6 separate regions of the Homo sapiens genome follow, and regions 1, 2, 3, 4 and 5 are each linked to region 6. The links are contacts of gene promoters, found by promoter capture Hi-C in blood cells and fetal thymus (Javierre and others, 2016). All regions are on one chromosome and are shown on one strand. The core of a region is centred on a gene start or on the middle of the fragment in contact, and the rest is flanking DNA. Distances in the headings are between cores, read along the strand shown.

Evidence for each region. The method cuts DNA at HindIII sites, captures the fragments that hold promoters and counts their contacts. A CHiCAGO score of 5 or more calls a contact.
Region 1: a fragment that was not itself captured here is called in contact with the fragment with the promoter of CLDN11 in region 6 in 4 of 17 cell types (M1 macrophages, M2 macrophages, endothelial precursors and 1 more); the score reaches 7.2 in M1 macrophages.
Region 2: a contact is called between the fragment with the promoter of RPL22L1 here and the fragment with the promoter of CLDN11 in region 6, in 2 of 17 cell types (erythroblasts and M0 macrophages). The highest score is 5.9, in erythroblasts.
Region 3: a fragment that was not itself captured here is called in contact with the fragment with the promoter of CLDN11 in region 6 in 3 of 17 cell types (erythroblasts, M2 macrophages and endothelial precursors); the score reaches 6.6 in erythroblasts.
Region 4: a fragment that was not itself captured here is called in contact with the fragment with the promoter of CLDN11 in region 6 in 6 of 17 cell types (M1 macrophages, M2 macrophages, endothelial precursors and 3 more); the score reaches 10.0 in M1 macrophages.
Region 5: a contact is called between a fragment that was not itself captured here and the fragment with the promoter of CLDN11 in region 6, in 4 of 17 cell types (endothelial precursors, M1 macrophages, M2 macrophages and 1 more). The highest score is 6.9, in endothelial precursors.

What each region holds. Positions count from the first base shown.
Region 1 is chr3:170,831,928-170,834,690 of GRCh38, reverse strand. The region is part of intron 2 of LOC105374211 (a long non-coding RNA gene); the gene reads right to left. Among named protein-coding and RNA genes, the nearest start is that of RPL22L1, 37 kb to the left of the region's middle. The HindIII fragment of the contact is 3,319 bases long and covers 1-2,763 here.
Region 2 is chr3:170,868,790-170,871,787 of GRCh38, reverse strand. It overlaps RPL22L1 (ribosomal protein L22 like 1), which reads left to right and starts at 1,593. Exons shown (of 4, transcript NM_001099645.2): 1 at 1,593-1,629. The coding sequence starts at 1,621. RefSeq lists enhancers at 429-1,154, 1,155-1,881, 2,051-2,100. The HindIII fragment of the contact is 15,380 bases long and covers 1-2,998 here.
Region 3 is chr3:170,850,383-170,853,102 of GRCh38, reverse strand. No RefSeq gene overlaps it. Among named protein-coding and RNA genes, the nearest start is that of RPL22L1, 18 kb to the left of the region's middle. The HindIII fragment of the contact is 2,377 bases long and covers 209-2,585 here.
Region 4 is chr3:170,794,094-170,796,810 of GRCh38, reverse strand. The region is part of intron 2 of LOC105374211 (a long non-coding RNA gene); the gene reads right to left. Among named protein-coding and RNA genes, the nearest start is that of RPL22L1, 75 kb to the left of the region's middle. The HindIII fragment of the contact is 5,465 bases long and covers 1-2,717 here.
Region 5 is chr3:170,759,753-170,762,802 of GRCh38, reverse strand. No RefSeq gene overlaps it. Among named protein-coding and RNA genes, the nearest start is that of RPL22L1, 110 kb to the left of the region's middle. The HindIII fragment of the contact is 1,024 bases long and covers 1,072-2,095 here.
Region 6 is chr3:170,417,459-170,420,324 of GRCh38, reverse strand. CLDN11 (claudin 11) reads right to left here and starts at 1,457. Exons shown (of 3, transcript NM_005602.6): 1 at 1,033-1,457. The coding sequence starts at 1,258. RefSeq lists an enhancer at 757-1,709. The HindIII fragment of the contact is 15,613 bases long and covers 1-2,866 here.

The DNA of each region.
Region 1 (2,763 bases), core at 191-2,690, 410 kb before region 6:
GCTACTTCTATGAGAGAAGATCTGTCCACAGTCATGGTTTTCAATGTTTAGTGCACCAGAATCACCTTGAGGGTTTGTTAAAACAGACTGCTGAACATAACACATCTATGAGAATGGCCAAAATCCAGAACACCAAATGCTGGTGAGGATGTGGAGCAATAAAAACTCTCATTTATTGCTGATGGCAATGCAAAATGGTACAGCCACTTTGGAAGACAATTTGCCAAATTTTTACAAAACTAAGTGTACTCTTACCATACAATCTAGCAATCATGCTCCCTGGTATTTACCTAAAGGAGTTAAAAACTTATGTCTAGACAGAAACCTGCATATGAATGTTTATAGCAGTTTTTTTCATAATTGCTAAACTTTGGAAGTAACCAAGATGCCCTTCAGCAGGTGAATGGACAAATAAACTGCAGTAGATGCAGACAGTGGAATATCATTCCATTCAAATGAGCTATCAGGTTGGTGCAAAAGTAATCGCGATGTTTGACATTATTTATATGGTTAATGGCAAAACCCACAATTACTTTTGCACCAACCTAATGTTAAGCCATAAAAAGACTTGGAGAAAACTTAAGTGCATATTACTAAGTGAAAGAAGCCAATCTGAAACGGCTACAGTCTGTATAGTTACGACTATAGGAAATTCTAGAAAAGACAAACTATGGAGACAGTAAAAGGATCAGTGGTTGCTAAGGGTAAAGGGGAGAGAGGGATAAGTAGGCAGAGCACAGAGGAATTTCAGAGCAGTGAAACTATTCTATATAATACTACAATGGTGGATACATGTCATTAGACATTTGTCCAAACCAATAGAATGTACAATAGCAAGAGTGAGCCCTTAATGTAATGTATGGACTTTGGGTGATAATGATCTGTTCATGTAGGTTCATCCATTGTAACAAATGTACCACTCTGGTGGGGGATGTTGATAATGGGAGAGGCTATGCATTTGTAGGGGCAATGGGTATATAGGAAATCTCTGTACCTTCCTCTCAATTTTGCTATGAACCTAAAACTACTCTAAAACATTGAGTCTTTAGGAAATAAACTTATTTAGGAAAAGAAAAAAAGAAACCAGACTGCTAGGTCTCGCCCCCAGAGTTTCTGATACAAAAGGCCTGGGGTGGAACCTGAGAATCTGCATTTTAGTAAGTTCCCAGGAGATATTGATGCTGCTGGTCCAACAAGCACACTTTGTTGGTCCAGAGAGCACATGTGGATCTACAAGATGTATGATAAAAGTCCATTTCAAATTAGTCTAAATGTAAATATCTGGTTGCTTCTTTCTTATTTCTCTTTCCTCCCTCCCTTTCTTCCTTCCTCCTACCTCCCACATTTTTTATCTTCATATTTGGGGGTTATAGAAACCAACTATATTTCTCACCTCTGTATTTTTTTGTCAACAGCTCAAGCCTCTTCTTATGTTAAGAAACCAGGAGGGAGCAACAATGTTGTTTTGTGTTAAGTATCTTGTTTCATTCAGATACTAAGAAAGAGAAACAAGTATTCTCTGGGTTGTTTGCTAATCTGAACTGGTATTGTCTATTCAGAATAGAAAGTCTTTTTGATGACTGATGGTTTAAAAAAAAAGGGGGGAAACTCTATAGGCTACCTGTTGCCAAAGAGTATTTTTGACATTTTAGGGTTTGTTTTATCTTTTATCAATATAAATATTTGAAAAATATAATAGTCAGGAAAATGGCTAAGGAAAACATTTCAGATCAGTGCTTGAAAGGACAGCTCAAGTTCAGCCTGAAGACTATTAAAGCCCTCCTCGTCTTCCACTCAGCAGCACCGTGTCCTTTCTTGGGGCCCATGAGCCCACTGAAGTTGAATACAAAGTGCTGTGTTTGCTTATGTGCATTTTTCTGGGAAGGTTTATGGCCTTTGGTGGATTTTCAGAGGGATTGTGACACACACACAAAAAAAGATTAAGAAATACTGCTATGGGGATGTGTCTGGTCAAAAGCTACATCTTAATTTCTTGATAAAAAAGGTAAATTTCTAGCGAGCTAGCAAGATACCACCATCTCAGCGTTTCTCATTGTTAGAATAGAGAAAAATGTTTTCCTAAATGAGTTCTTGTCACATTTAATGAGAGGTTCGTAAGGCCCTTAGCATAGTATCTGGTGTATGATAGATGCTAAATAAACGGCAGCCAGTAACAGTGAAGTCCTGCTTGCTGTGCCATTTGTCTTACGGTGATTGCTACACAAGCACTAGAAGCAAAAATCTTTGGCATATCTTTGATTCGAACTGAAGGATCAGTGGTCTCTCTCTGTGAGATAGGGGTTATTACCTTCATTTTACCAATAATGAAACTCAGCTTCATTTCCAAAAGGACTTAGAGGTAGGTGTTATTTTGTTACATTCACTTATTAGAGCCATATTTTCTGTCAGTGAAGTTGTATCATCATTACATACGTATACCAGCATTTTACCCATTGTGTCTTGCAGGGAGTATCGTGATTTCTGAGCACTCAGCCTCTGAAACAAGTCTGAGAAGGACTGGTCAAGATGAGATCTTGGAAGACAGCTTGGCCCAGGCTGGGAAGCATTGATGGGTAAAGATTCCTCCATGCCTTTTCATGGCCTTGTCTGGTTCTCAACTCTGTGCTCTGCCTCTGAACCACTGCCATGGTGAGGAGTATTGCTTATCCCCCCGTGTCATGCTCCCTAGGAAGTAGTTTTGTACTTAAGCAAAAACTTGGCTAAGAAAGGGAAAATATAACATATGCTCATGCACAAAACAAT
Region 2 (2,998 bases), core at 344-2,843, 450 kb before region 6:
CTAATATTCTTGTTTTTTTTTCTAATTGACAAACATTTTTCCCCCATTACAGTTTCTAACTAGTTATTTGGTGATTACTAGTTCTTGTGAAACAGGTATGTTTCCATATCCTCCTTGTACAAATGGCTTAATAGTGCTTAAGGAGTTTATTGTCAAGACATGGAAGACTGCTAAAGACAAGCAAAATAGAATCATTTCTGCCCCTCAGCTTAGGCAGCCCTTGAGGAGGAAATGCCAATTGCTCCCTTTAATGTTTGGAAAGAGAAATGTGATTATTGTAGCTCTTAAGGCAGACAACTAAAAAATCTTGTTGAAATGGATTTCTTCTAGGAATTCAGGGCCTCTCTTCAGACTCTACAAGTCATATGCTCTATTAAAGCATAGTTTCCACGATAACTACTTGCTGGCATAAAGGCCACGAACAGTTCTTACTTTCTGGGGTCATTCTTCAAATTAACAACAAAGTCCACCCCATCCCTTACCCCTACCCCTAGGTATGATAATTTCATCTCCACGAAAACATATTACTGCTAAACCCAAGCGGTTCAGCATGCCACTTTTCGGATCTGATGTCAATTTACAATCCTTCAAAGCTCAAAAGCTACTTTTTCCTTTTGTCAGCAAGACACTTCCACCCTCGTGTGTCTTGTACATACTGATAGGTCACAGCAAACATTCATTGAATTTTAACTGGGAGCATTTTGGATGGAAATCAAGAGACCTGGGATTAACTGTAAAACCCATGATAAATTATACCAAACGAATGAACAAGAAGCAAGCACTACGTGTTTTTCCCTTTGAGACAGTCTCACTGTTACCCAGGCTGGAGTGCAGTGGCTCGATCTCGACTCACTGCAACTTCCGCCTCTCAAGGTAAAGCGATGCTCCTGCCTCAGCCTCCCGAGTGGCTGGGAGTACAGACGCGCACCACCACGCGGGCCATTTTTTTTAAAATTGTTTGTAGAGACGGGTTCTCCCTATGCCTACGCTGCCAAGGGTGGTCTCGAACTCCTGGGCTCAAGAGATTCTCCGGCCTCGGCCTCCCAAAGTGCTGGGATTACAGGCGTGGGCGTGTAAGCATATATATACATGATTTTTTTTTCCCGAGGACCTGGTCCCCGAAGCACCAATTTCCCTCAACAGTCATTTAGAAAACGAGGCTCACAGACAAAACACAAACAAATAACTTTTTCGCTGGAGGATTATAACTGCAATAAAAGGAGATCCCAAAGCAACCTGAGACACTGCCTTGCCCTGATTGGAAAGGGGATTCCGGTGATTAGTGAAAGATGACTCCTGCATCCCTCGCGTGCGTCCGTATCCGGGAGCAGCCACTAGGTAACTGTAGAGGCCACTGCAATTAATCGGCTTGAACAGCCAGGAGCGGAAACCCGAGAGTCAGTTCAACCACAGCCACCCGCGTGTGCCCGCGGAAAGCCGATGGCCTACTCTCGTCCGGCAGCGCACTGGTTTCCTGGGTTACCGGCCTCAGCGCTCCTCCCGCTTTCTTTTCCGGGAGGCGACAATCTGACGCTCTCAGCGCGTGACGCAGCACGCTTTGATATAAATGCAGACCGCGCGGCCGTAGCTTCCTCTCTGCTCTCGCGGCCGACTCGCAAGATGGCGCCGGTGAGTGAGCGATGTCTTGGTGGGAGTGTTGTGTGGCAATTTAATGATTTCCGCTGTAACGATTTTTGCATCTGTCGAGTGGAGACGTCTCAGTCAAGATAAAGGGAGGGGAGTAGTGAAGTCTGGGTCAGAAACACAACCAAGACGCGAGGATCCTGAACTGTTTTTCGAGACTCCCTGGCAGCTGCCATGAGGTCTAGTGGAGTTGGAGCTGGGCCCGGAATTGGTTTAGGATGGGTGGTTTTGGACACGCGGGAAAGAGGGAGGCACAACTGTAAATGGGCCGGTGGTACTGCAATCTGAGCCATTTCTTTACTATCTCGCGCCTGATAATGCTTTTGCCACTCAGCACTGGGTAGGGGAATGGTGGGTAATCGGGCCGGTCTGACGACCTTTGCCAGGCCAGAGGGAGCTCCTAGGCGCTCAGCTCCCGCGATGGCCGACATCACAAGTTTTTGAGAACTTTCAGTTGGGGAAGAAGTTTCTCGGTGAAGTAATTTTTAGAAAAGTATAAGTCTAGATTCCAGCAATGTGAAATAAACGTGCTTCAGATGTTTTACTTAAGTCATTAGTAAGGGAACCAGTAAGATGTTAAAATGTTCCTAAGAATATCTGAAAAGCTAGATATACATGCGCAATTTACAAATAAAGTTAGGATAAAATTGCTGGGCTAGCTACAAAACTGGGTAATGCCCAGCATGGCCATAAACCCTATAGGGTTATCTGTTCCATTAGACAGAAGTTGTTTGTGTCTCCCAAATTAACTTCTGCGCCAACTGGGTAATTATCTTTTGGCACATGTTACCATGCTACCTGAGAAAGCAAACTAATGTGTAATACTTGGTAGCCACTTGGGTGAATCTAAATTGGAGGTTATAGTCTGATAAATACAGATTTGTTTGTTCATATTGCAGTGAATGTACATGGTTGCTGGCCACAGTAACATTTTGCTTATGTAGCCATATTATATGGTCTTGGTATAAAAGGTTTGGATATGGAAAATTTAAGTTCCACGGTGTTGGTTTTTAGGTTTTTTTTTTTTTTTGAGACAGAGTCTGTTGCCCAGGTGGGAGTATAGTGGCATGATCAGGCTCACTACAACCTCCGCCTCCCGGGTTCAAGCAATCCTCCCGACTCAGCCTCCTGAATAGCTAGGATTATAAGCATGCACCACCACACCTGGCTAATTTTTGTATTTTTACTAGAGATGGGGTTTCACCATGTTGGCCAGGCTGGCCTTGAACTCCTGACCTCACGTGATCCTCCTGCCTCAGCCTCCCAAAGTGCTGGGACGGCACCTTGCCTTTTTTATTTTTATTTTTTCTTTTTCTTTTCTTTTCTTTTTTTTTTTTTTTACCAAAGTCCCCTT
Region 3 (2,720 bases), core at 148-2,647, 430 kb before region 6:
TCCGCCCAAGAAAATCTGGATCCTCATATTGCGAGGTAGGCCAGGTAGGATGAAGGGAAAAGCTCATAACTTCCTGAAGAAGTTTCAGTACTCCAAAGGATAAAAAGAAAATCCCAAAAGCTTCCAGAGGGAAGAGAAAACAAAACAAAACAGTTTACCTACAAAAAAATAATCTTGAATTGGACCTACTAAGGGAGTGCACTAAGCTTACCAGCAGGAATGTCTGGGTCTCATCAGCTATAAGAATCCTTTCCTGTCCTTAGGCTTCCTGTTTTCTATAAATTAAGAGATTAAACCAGCAGATTTCTGTTTCTCTCTCTCTCTCTCTCTGTCTCTCTCTCTCTCTCTCGCTCTGTGTGTGTGTGTGTGTGTGTGTGTGTGTGTGTGTGTGTGTGTGTGTGTTTCCAGGTCTGACTTGCTGTGAATGCTTGTTGATGTACTCCAAGGCTGACCTCTCTTTTGGAGCTTTCCTCATGAAACCCAACAGGCCACTCCATAAATCCACAACACATACAGTGGATTTTTTTTTTAAACTGCCATATGCTTTAAATAAGCATGTGAGTTTATTGCCTGAACACATGCTGATTTATCAACTCAATCTTATTTCTTAAGGACAGGAATAGTGGTTTCGAGTACAGTACACTATAAATAGAAAACACAACACGTGACTGCTGGATTAATCAATCAGCGAACTTTTATGAGCATCTGCAGTATGTCTCTTTCTGTCTCTCTTTTTTTTTTTTTGAAACAGGGTCTCGCTGTCTCACTCAGGCTAGAGTGCAGATCACAGTTCACTGCAGCCTTCACTTCCTGGACTCAAGGATCTTCCCACCCCAGCCTCCCAAGTAGCTGGGACTACAAGTATGTGCCATGAAACCCAGCTAATTTTTATTCTCTCTCTCTCTCTTTTTTTTTTTTTTTTGTAGAGATGAGGTCTCGCTATATCCCCCAGGTTGGTCTTGAACTTGTGGGCTCAAGGATCCTCCTGCCTCAGCCTCCCAAAGTGCTGGGATTACAGGAGTGAGCCATTGTGCCCAGCCAATATGTCTCATACCATGAAAAGTCATAGGATTTTGAGAAGACCATACAGATCTTTTGCTCCAGTGTTTATCAAAGTGCATAAAACAGGACTGTAGTTCCATGTGAACATAGTAAGTAGTACAGTAACAACAAAATAACACATGGGAAATGGACAGTTAAGCAAACTAAACATTTATTTGCTTTGGGAATTTTTCAGGTCTTTGTGACTCTCCATGCATCGGTTCCCCCAAATATGTAGCTTTGCTCAAATGTAGTGGATCATAGAGTACTTTTATTTACCAACTCAAGAAAGCATATGAGTTTCTAGATCTAACTGATGGTTTACAAAAGATGCAGTGGGTAAAGAACATATTAAATGATACCAGGAGGATTTAATCAGCCATTCCAGAATGTAAGAGATTCTACAAGATAAATGACCAGTTTCTCCAATGACAAAGAAATAGCATTAACAGAAGAGGGTGGGCCAGTTATAGAACAAAAGAGATTTAAGAGAAAAATCACCATATGTAATATGGGGACTTTTTGGAAAATGATCCAAACAAACCAAATGCAAATAGATATTTTTGAGATAAGCAAAGATAATTGAACATGAACTGGGTATTAAAAAATATAAGCATTACATATTCTAAAACCTAACTATTGTTCATTTTACTCAGTGTGATTATGATATTACTGTTATTTTTTAGTTTGTTTTGATATACATACTGAAGTAGTAAAGGTAAATTAATACCAGAATTTTCCTGTAAACATATACTGGTAATGCTTTTCTCCTTGATATGAGTGTTTTGTAGGTGGGTATGTTAACTTTATTAAAAAGATGTTCTTAACACTTATGATTTGTTCACTTTCTATGTGTAAGTCCTATTTCAAAAATTTTATATATAATTTAAATATTATATATGCATATATAATGCATATAGGTGGTTTAAAAATCAGTTTCTATTGTAAAAGAGTACACAGTGAAAAGTATTCCTTCCTTTCCCTGAAGCCTACTGACCCGTTTCTTCTCTCAAAGACAATGACTATTACCAGCATTCATCTGAAGGTATTTTTATTTTATGTGTGTACAAGTATGTCTATGCAGATATGTCTTGGATATAATCCATGTAAGTATATATAGATTTTTCCATTTTTAGTAGTAACATGTTATTTTATTGTGTGTTTTACTGTGTGTTATTTGCCTGGTCACTTAGTGCTGGAAATTTAGGCAGTTTACAGTTTTTGTACAGTTTTTGTACAGTCTTTATGCTCATGGGTTTTTAAATGTTAATAGATGTTGCCAAATTGTCCTCCAAGATGTCTGTACTAGTTTACCTCCATTTCCACCCAGTAATATATATATCACGGTGCTCAAGTTCACAGTATACTGAGTCATATATAGTAATGCCCTCAAGAGGGAGGTATCTTTAAAATAAATTCAGGATAAATTGACCTTTGATTATAACTGTTCTTACTCAAATACCTTAAACAAGGAAGACACAGCTTATTTGTGTATAAAATTAGTATAGCAGAATGTCTACTTAAGTACTTCTAGAATTAAAGCTTTTCTCTTCTAAATGGTGTGAAAAATGGCTATAGTAATCAAGATTGTGTGGTGCTGACAGAGAGACTATAAAGGGTTGGTTCAGTACTATGCACAAGATGTAGCACCAGGTGCTTTAAATATATTATCTTATTTT
Region 4 (2,717 bases), core at 113-2,612, 380 kb before region 6:
ATTCCATATAAATTTTAGACTAAGGTGATCACTTTCAACACAAAAGTACACTGGTATTTTGATTAGGTATGCACTGAATCTTTACATCAATTTAGAAAAATTTGACATAATAACAATAATTGTGTTATCTAATCCATGAACATGTTATATGTCTCTACTGATTTAGGTCTTATCCAGAATATTCAGGTAGGTGTAGGGTGGGGGGTGTTGAGGTTTAAGTAAGCAAAGTACAAGTACTTTATTAGGGTGGCAAAATTATTCTGTATGATATTGCAATAGCGAATACAAATTGTCAAAACTCATAGAACTTTACAACACAAAACATAAAGGTTGTGGACATATTTTGTTACAGTTATTTTGCTTTTTTGGCATGGTATTAGCAAAAGAATAGACCCAAGGATCAGTCAAACAGACTACAGGGCCCAGAAATAGACCCACACAAATATAGTCAACTGATTTTTGACAAAGAAGCAAAGGCAATACAATGGAAAAAGAATAGTCTTTCCAACAAATGGTGCTGGAACAATTGAGTGTCCATATGCAAGCAAGGAACTCAAACACACACCTTACACTTTTCACAAACATCAACTCAAAATTCATCATAAACATAAATGCAAAATGCATAGGTATAAAACTCCTTGAAAAAAATAGGAGACAATTTATACAGCCTTGGGTTTGGTGGTGAATTTTTAGATACAACACCAATAGTAATGCAAAAAAAAAAAAAGATGAACTTTCTTAAAAACAAAAATTTCTGCTCTGCAAAATACCCATTAAGAAAATTAGACAAGTCTCAGACTCATCCGATATGCAAAGCACATATCAGATAAAAGATCTGCGTCCAAAATACATAATAAGAAAATAACAATCCAATTTAAAAATAGACAAAAGGCCTCATCAGACACCTCACCAGAGAAGATATGTAGGTGGCAAATATGTATATATAAAGATGCTCTACATTATTTGTTACTAAGGAATTTCAAATTAAACAACAATGAGAAGTCACTGCATACCAATCAGAATAGCTAAAACAAAACAAAACAAAAACTACTAACAGAGTAACAGTAGCTCTCACTCATTGCTGGTTGGAATGCAAATTGATACAGCAACCTTAGAAGGCAGGTTGGCTGTTGCCTACAAACTAAAAATTGTCCTACCATATGATCCAGTAACCACGCTATTCGGTATTTACTCAATGATTTGAAAATGTATGTCCATACAAAAACCTTCATGAGAATGTTTATACCAGTTTTACTTATAATTCCCCCCAAACTGGAAGCAATAATGATGTCTTTCAGTAGGCAAATGAACAAACTGTGGTACATCTATTCAATGGAATATCATTTAGTGATAAAAAGGAACAAGCTAGCAAGCTATGCAAAAACATAGATAATTCTTTGATGAATATTGCTAAGTGAAAAAAGCCAGTCTGAAAAGGCTGTATATTATTTCAATTTTATGACATTATGGAAAAGGAAAAAGCCATAGCAATGGTAAAAGGTCAGTGGTTTCCAGGTGTTCAGCAGAGGGTGGGTGAGTAGGGCCGGGAGGTTCGAACAGGTAAAGTATAGGTAAATTTTTGGGAAGGCAAAACTATTCTATATGATACTGTAATTGTGAATGAAGGTTATAAAGCATTTATCATTCCAATTTTAGTATGTGTGCTGCCAAGGCGAGCATGAGCATTTATCAAAACTCATAGAAATTTATAACACAAAAAGTAAACCTTTATGTATACAAGTTTTTAAAAACTTTAGAATGTCAGAGGATCCCAGGATGGAATATAGAGTATAACAAAACAATCTAACTCTATTTAAGTGTAGGTAGCCACTTCATTTAAGGAGGTTACTTAGAATGCTGATCTAAGTAACTTTGGAAATGAGTAGAGTCTGTAAAACTAAGGGTAAAATTAACTATACATAAGGACAGTATGCTAGTTGATAACCATTTTCCCCCTACAGAGTTAGAGGATAACAATTCTCAAACCAGTATACATGTATACTGAAACTGAATAATTAAGCAAATGAATGGAAGATGATGTGATCCAGGTTTCTTGTTGATGCAATGAGAGGTTAAAAGGGAAGGAAGCAAAGATGATCCTTGTGATAATAGATTAAGTTGGAGATATCAGTATGAACTTATGTTTGGCTTAACATAGATACCCATGGTTACATATAGGAATATGTGTAGATGTGTATATATACACAAGGAAGTATATACACAAGGAAATATGTACACACATATATGTCTTTGCTCTGGCAGCTGAGAAGACCTAAAAGCAATGACACCCCAATAGCAATGAACATACCTTGCACCCAGATATTGGTTTCCAATAGCATTCTCCCATAAAAGGAACTAGTTCTCCTTGGAGAAATGGCTGCTTCTAGGAATAGAGCCAGAAATACACAATATGTGCCTGGAGCATCTTGTAATGTCAGAACGTCAAAAAATGCTCAAATATAAAAACCCACAATGATGACAATATGTTAAAGGGACACAGAAGTCAACTAAAAGAGCTCCCAGTGGCCAAAGTTGGAAAAATCTGAGCAACATAAATAAAGTAGTATTGAATTATAACCCAAAGTATAAATAAATATCCATGAATGCATATGGACATAAATCAATGATTGAACAAATAGTCTGGGAGCAGTGGCTCACACCTGTAATCCCAGCAATTTAGGGGGCCGAGGTGAGCAGATCACTTGGGGTCAGGAGTT
Region 5 (3,050 bases), core at 334-2,833, 340 kb before region 6:
AGGAGAATACTATCTTATTTCCTGTTTCATTAGAGTACAATGACATGAGAGCTAAATTTTACAATAAATCCAAAGATATAGGATTCTTACCTTTTTCCATGTCTTCCTTAAGGCACAACTCATGTGTGAACCTGTCTTTGATGCAATTCTTTCTTCCTTTATGTTCCCTTAGCCTGCTTTTTAATTTTTATTTTACCTGTATTATGATACTTCACAGGCTGACTACATTGTGTAAATGTAATAATCTTGAGATCTGTTTATGCATCAAGGGGCATGTTGAGTGTCATTTGGAGAAAGTACTGAGTTCTGGTATCCTTTTTAAAAAAAACCAATAATTTAAATCACTGAATGGAAAGTTTCTGTCCTGAGTGTGTCAATGCCAGTATGAATCAACCAGGTACCTCACAATTTGGAACGGGTGACCATAAAACAATTAGAAAAAAAGATTGATTGAAACTGGAGTAAATGCCTGGTATTAGACTTAAGACAGCCCTCCAATACGCAATCTATGAAGTAAGAGGATAATAGAAAACAGTTGTGATTTGAACAGGGATCAACAGTGTAAAGCTGTTTTTGAAATTTGCAGGATACAGGGTTGGGCCAAAAATGAATAAAGTCATAAATATTCTGATCCTTTGGGATATGTGTACATAGGGAAATACCAAAATATTAAGGGTGATTATTCTAAACATTGACAAATATAAAGATGTTAAATGTAGTCAAGAAAAGTAGAAAATGAAAAAGAAAACATGAAAAACAGGAGAAAGGAAAAGGAGAATGAAACAAGGTCAGAAAAGAAGAGCTAGTTAGCATTTTAGATGCTATGTAAACAAGAATTTCTCAATTTAAAAGTTATTAAAAGTTTAATAAATGTTATTAAAAGTTTCTCAGTTAAAAGTTTGTGAAATGAATGAAACTATCTTCTCGGTTACCTTGAAAGCCACATTCAAATTTAAGGATGAACACAAAGGACTTCTTTGAGTCCTAGGAGTCCATGACACTTGGCTTTCTGGCTTGTGCCTCTGGACGCACTATATGTTTCTAAAAATCAAAATCTTAAACCATGAAGCTTGAGTGGCTAGTGCACTTTTCAGAGGATTCAAATCAGATTTTTGGATTTCTCATTCTGTGATCATCATTCAATTCCATTTGCCAAACAGCCTACCAGACCCCTTTCAGACTGGAAACAAATGGGCCAGGTGAAATAGCAACAAGGGCCCATCCTACAAATACTACCATGTTTTTTTCCCCAGTATGGACTTTATATCAGGTTTCAGAGTCCTCAGAGTACAATCTGTATGCCACTGGAAAAATGTTATTCCTGTTATTCTGTTGTTTCTTCATAGAAGTCCAAGGATGTACGTTTACCTGAAAGTTTTGTAATGCACTGTCTTTCATTCTGTGTCCAGTGAGCAGCCTGGCATGGACACTGTGGCAGCCTCAGTTCTCTGGGGCAGAGCATGAGAACTGGGTGATTAACCCTGTGTAAAGAATGGGGCCTGATTCAGTTCTGACACATTAAAGGGTCAATATTTCTTGCCAGTAATCGTTCCTGCAGGATACCTTAGAAGGAAATCTTACAGAAAGGAAGTTATAGGACTGAATTCCAAACCCACTGCTTGCCGAGTTAGGATGGATAGAACCATAATGCATGCCCAGGTATATGCAGTGCCAATGACCTCATGAAGAAATCTAACTTGTTATTTTCAACAACACCCCTTAGAGTGCAATAAAACCACCAGAGGGTCTGTGCTTCTGAAAGAATGTGTTGCCAGCTGTGGTTGTTGCCACATGAAACCCTACCTGATGCTAACTGAATAATACTCTGCAATCCCATTTCATAAAGTTGTATTTTTAAAAAATTTCCTCTGTTCCTAAGAGCCTTCTGTTCTCCTGCTACCAGTCTCAGGAGTCGTTCCTCCCTCTTTGTTCTCTTCATCTGTGCCTCTTGCCCCCCACCACATAGCTCTACAAATACAATTTTCCTTTACCAACAGCTCCATGCTTTCACTGTGCCCCAGTTAATCATTCTAATTTCCTTTGGTGGTCTCATTACCTCCCAAATTAAGCTCCCCATTGCACCAATATTCAAGCTTAAAATGATTTGGAAATTAAGCCTGTTTTTCCACAAGGGCAAGATGCCTGTTGAAGTAACAGTGTGAGGTTGAATCTCTTTGATGAATGCCTTTTATTAACTGATTAGACTGGATTTTACTTCCTGCCTGAAGTCAGAGTCAAAGAATCTCTGAGTGTGTCTAACCATCTCTACTCTTCTACCTGATCTGAAAATAATGGCCTAACCCTAAAGTGTTCCCCTGTCTCCCTGCTATCTGTCTTGCTTCCCAGCTCCCTGGTAACTGGTTCAGCTTTGTGTGGTGGTGGTGAAAGTTACATTTCTATGGAGAAATGCAGCAGCACATAGCAGAGTGGCAGAGAAGCTCTATTTAGGCTTTGTTTCTTGACCACATCACTTGATTTTTAGGGAGATCCTATGATTGGTATTCTGAGCATTTTCTGAGTTGCCTCATCGCTGGGTCAATGGCTTTATCTACTAAAAGAAACAGAAAGGGAAATTGGTTCTGTCTCACTGAGCTTGCCAGAGTGGAATCTGGCCAAACTGCTAAACACCACTGAGCTTCATTCCTCACCTGTAAAATAGAGATAAATAATAAAACATACACTGTGTGAAGATTAAATAAGACAATGTATGTAAAGTAAATAGCGTGGTGACTGAGAGGTCAGCACAGTGCCGTGAATAAGAGCATGAACTGGAGCAAGACTGTCTTCCCCAAATTCTCCCTCAGTCTTTTGCTGTCTATGTAGTTTAGGGGCAAGCCAAACCACTTGTGCCTCATTTGCCAATCTGTAGAAAGGGCGATAATAAAATTTACCTTATAGGGTTGTTGTGAAGATGAAATGAATTAGTGAAAACTGCTGAGAACCATGCCTGGCACACAACCACAACAAACACTAAAAGTGCTTGCCAAAAAAAGTGTTTGCCATTATTATCAGAAAATACTGGTATTATTACAGCTATTAAAATAAGCTCT
Region 6 (2,866 bases), core at 208-2,707:
AGGCTGGGGGACAGAAGCCCACCTTGTAGGGACATGCCTTGGGGGTAGAGCAGAGATTCCAGCAGAAAACCAAGGGGGTGCCCGCGACCTCGCCATTGCCCAACCCATTGGTTTAAATCTGAATTGAGGCTGTCGCCCAAAATGTTTCCACAGGACACATGTGAAAATGTGGCCCCTGGCCGGCGCTAGGCTGTCAATTTTTACCTCCCCTTCCCAATCTGAGACACGCTGGAGGGGTGGCGGCGAGCGACCCTCGGCGGCGCGCTCCGTATCTCCCCAGTGGAGTCCGCCCTCCGAGGAGCGCCCGCTCGTCCCTATCCAACCCAGCGGCGCGGAGCGGGAGCCGGCGTCACCGCAGCCCCGCAGTCTGACGCGCCCACAGCAGGGGCGGGGGTAGCGGGGGCAGCGGAGATGGCCCTGGGCACGTGCGGGAATCAACGTGACATTTCCCAAACCAGGCAGCCCAGAGAGCCCTGGACGTGAATTGCTCAGCGGCTGCGCGGACGGAGCTAGGAGGGCTCTAACCTGGCCGGGGGCGCTTCGCCCATCCCATGAGGACCGAGAAACTCAGCCTGAGCCGGTTCGATTCTCCTGTCAGCTTGTGTTACACGCTCCTTCTCACCTCTGCGGGCGGAACCTAACGCGAAGGCTCGGCGCCCCGGGGGAGGCCGGGCGGGAGCGGGAAGCACTTCGGGAAGCGGACGGTGGAAGGATGCGGGCTGGGACCGCAGTAATTAACACGGACTCAGTTCCTATTAGGTGTTCCGGTTTGTTCATTCTCAAAGGGACCCGGCCAGTGTTACCACCGGCCACATTGCCACTATTATCTCAAATTCCAGATAAGAATACTGCGGCCTAGAGAAGTTAAGTTCGGGGCTGCCTAATTCTTTTACAACAAGGTGGGACTAGGGATGTCAAAAACGTACCCAAAGGTCTTCAAGCCCCCAAAATGTCTCTGTGACGCCGTCTAATATCCCGCTCTCTACCCAGAGGATAAGGATTTGGGAGCCGCCGCCAAGCTCGGGTCCTTACCCGGCAGGATGAGGATGTCCACCAGGGGCTTGCAGTGGTACAGCCCCGTGGCCATGACGCAGTCGGCCCACAGCCCCTTGGAGCCCAGCTCATCCAGCTTGCGGCAGGTGGGGATGGTGTAGCCGCAGGTCACCACCCAGTCATTGGTGGAGGTGGTCACGATGACCCCGATCCAGCCCACGAAGCTCGTGACGAAGCCCACCACCTGCAGGCACGTGGCCACCATGGTGGCCGCCAGGATGTCCCCGTGCCTCGCCCCTCACGGCTGTGCCTGGGCCTGGGCTGGACAGTGCCTGCCCAGGTACGTCTCCCACGCTCGCGAGCCGCTGGAGGGCGACGGCCCGAGGCGGGACACTGGAGGTGGAGGTGGGCGCCGGAGGCTGCGAGCTCAGCGGCGAAGGGCGCACGGCGGGGACAGCAGCGCTGCTGGGCAGCGCGCCCCCGCCCCCTCTTTAAGCCCCGCGGCTCCGGCCGGCGAGCACCAATCGGCGGCAGCCCCGGGGCGCGCCGGCCAATCGCGGGGCGGGGCCGGGAGGGAAGCGTGAAGGGGAGCAGAGTAACCCCAGGGGGGCCATTGGGCCGCCCCACCCCGTCCGCAGCGCAGTCCGGCGATGCAAAGTAAAACAATTCCATCCAGGTCCAGAGAAACGGAGAGCGCAAAGAGGGCGTGCGTTTGTCGAGAGTTCTGTTTTCCTGCGACTGGTTTCTCTTCTTATAGCCCCTCTCTCATCTCAGTCTCTGGGTGTCCATTCCGCTCCGACCCTCCTCAGCTCCTCCCTGCTCGCTCCTTCTTCCCTGCTGCGAGCACTCCAAGGGCGCTCGGTACAGTCCCCCGACGACCCAGGATTGTGACAGACTGAAAAGTGCAGTAGGGACAAACGCGAGGCATTCAGTACACACAGTTACTAGAAGAAAGAAAACGATGCTTTTCAGTGGTTGAACATCATCAGCGGCAAACGTGGCCATAATAATCAACAATAGCAACTCACATTTATCGAGCTGTGTTATATATTATGCAGATGCATTTTACATGCATTAGCTCATTTAATCCTCATAACAGCCTTTGAGGTAGGAACAATTGTCAATGACACATACTAGGCCGGGAGTGGTGGCTCACACCTGTAATCCCAGAACTTTGGGAGGCCAAGGTGGGCGGATCACCTAAGGTCAGGAGTTCGAGACCAGCCTGACCAACATGGTGAAACTCCATCTCTACAGAAAATACAAAAATGAGCCGGGCATGGTGGCGCATGCCTGTAACCCCAGCTGCTTGGGAGGCTGAGGCAGGAGAATAACTTGAAGGAGGTTGCAGTGCGCCAAGATCGTGCCACTGCACTCCAGCCTGGGCAACTGAGTGAGACAACGTCTCAAAAGCAAACAACAACAACAACAACAAATTACACGCACTAGCCATAGAGAAACAGCACAAGAAGGTTGAGTTGCCCAAGTTCACGCAGCTAGGAAGGGGTAGATACCATGGGCCCATCTCATCCCTTTCACGAACTGTTTCTAGGAAACTGTCCTGATCAGTCTGAAAATTCCTAAGGGGTTCATGTGTCCCATTTTAGACGCATTAAAAGCTACAGCAGACTTCTCTGGCTCACTGTAAATAAATTAATATCTGTACCCCACTGAGAAAACTGCCTAGCCCAGAATGAGCGCTCTGATAGTGTAAAGCTATCATCATCACCATCAACATCATTAAGCCACCATGCATACAAATAGGCCGCATTATTTGCACCTTTTTATTCAGATAGGGAAGTCTTCCTTGAGCTGCATTTACATTCAACAGTTTTCACTCCCTTTGAAACATTTGGCTTATCTTATTATCTCC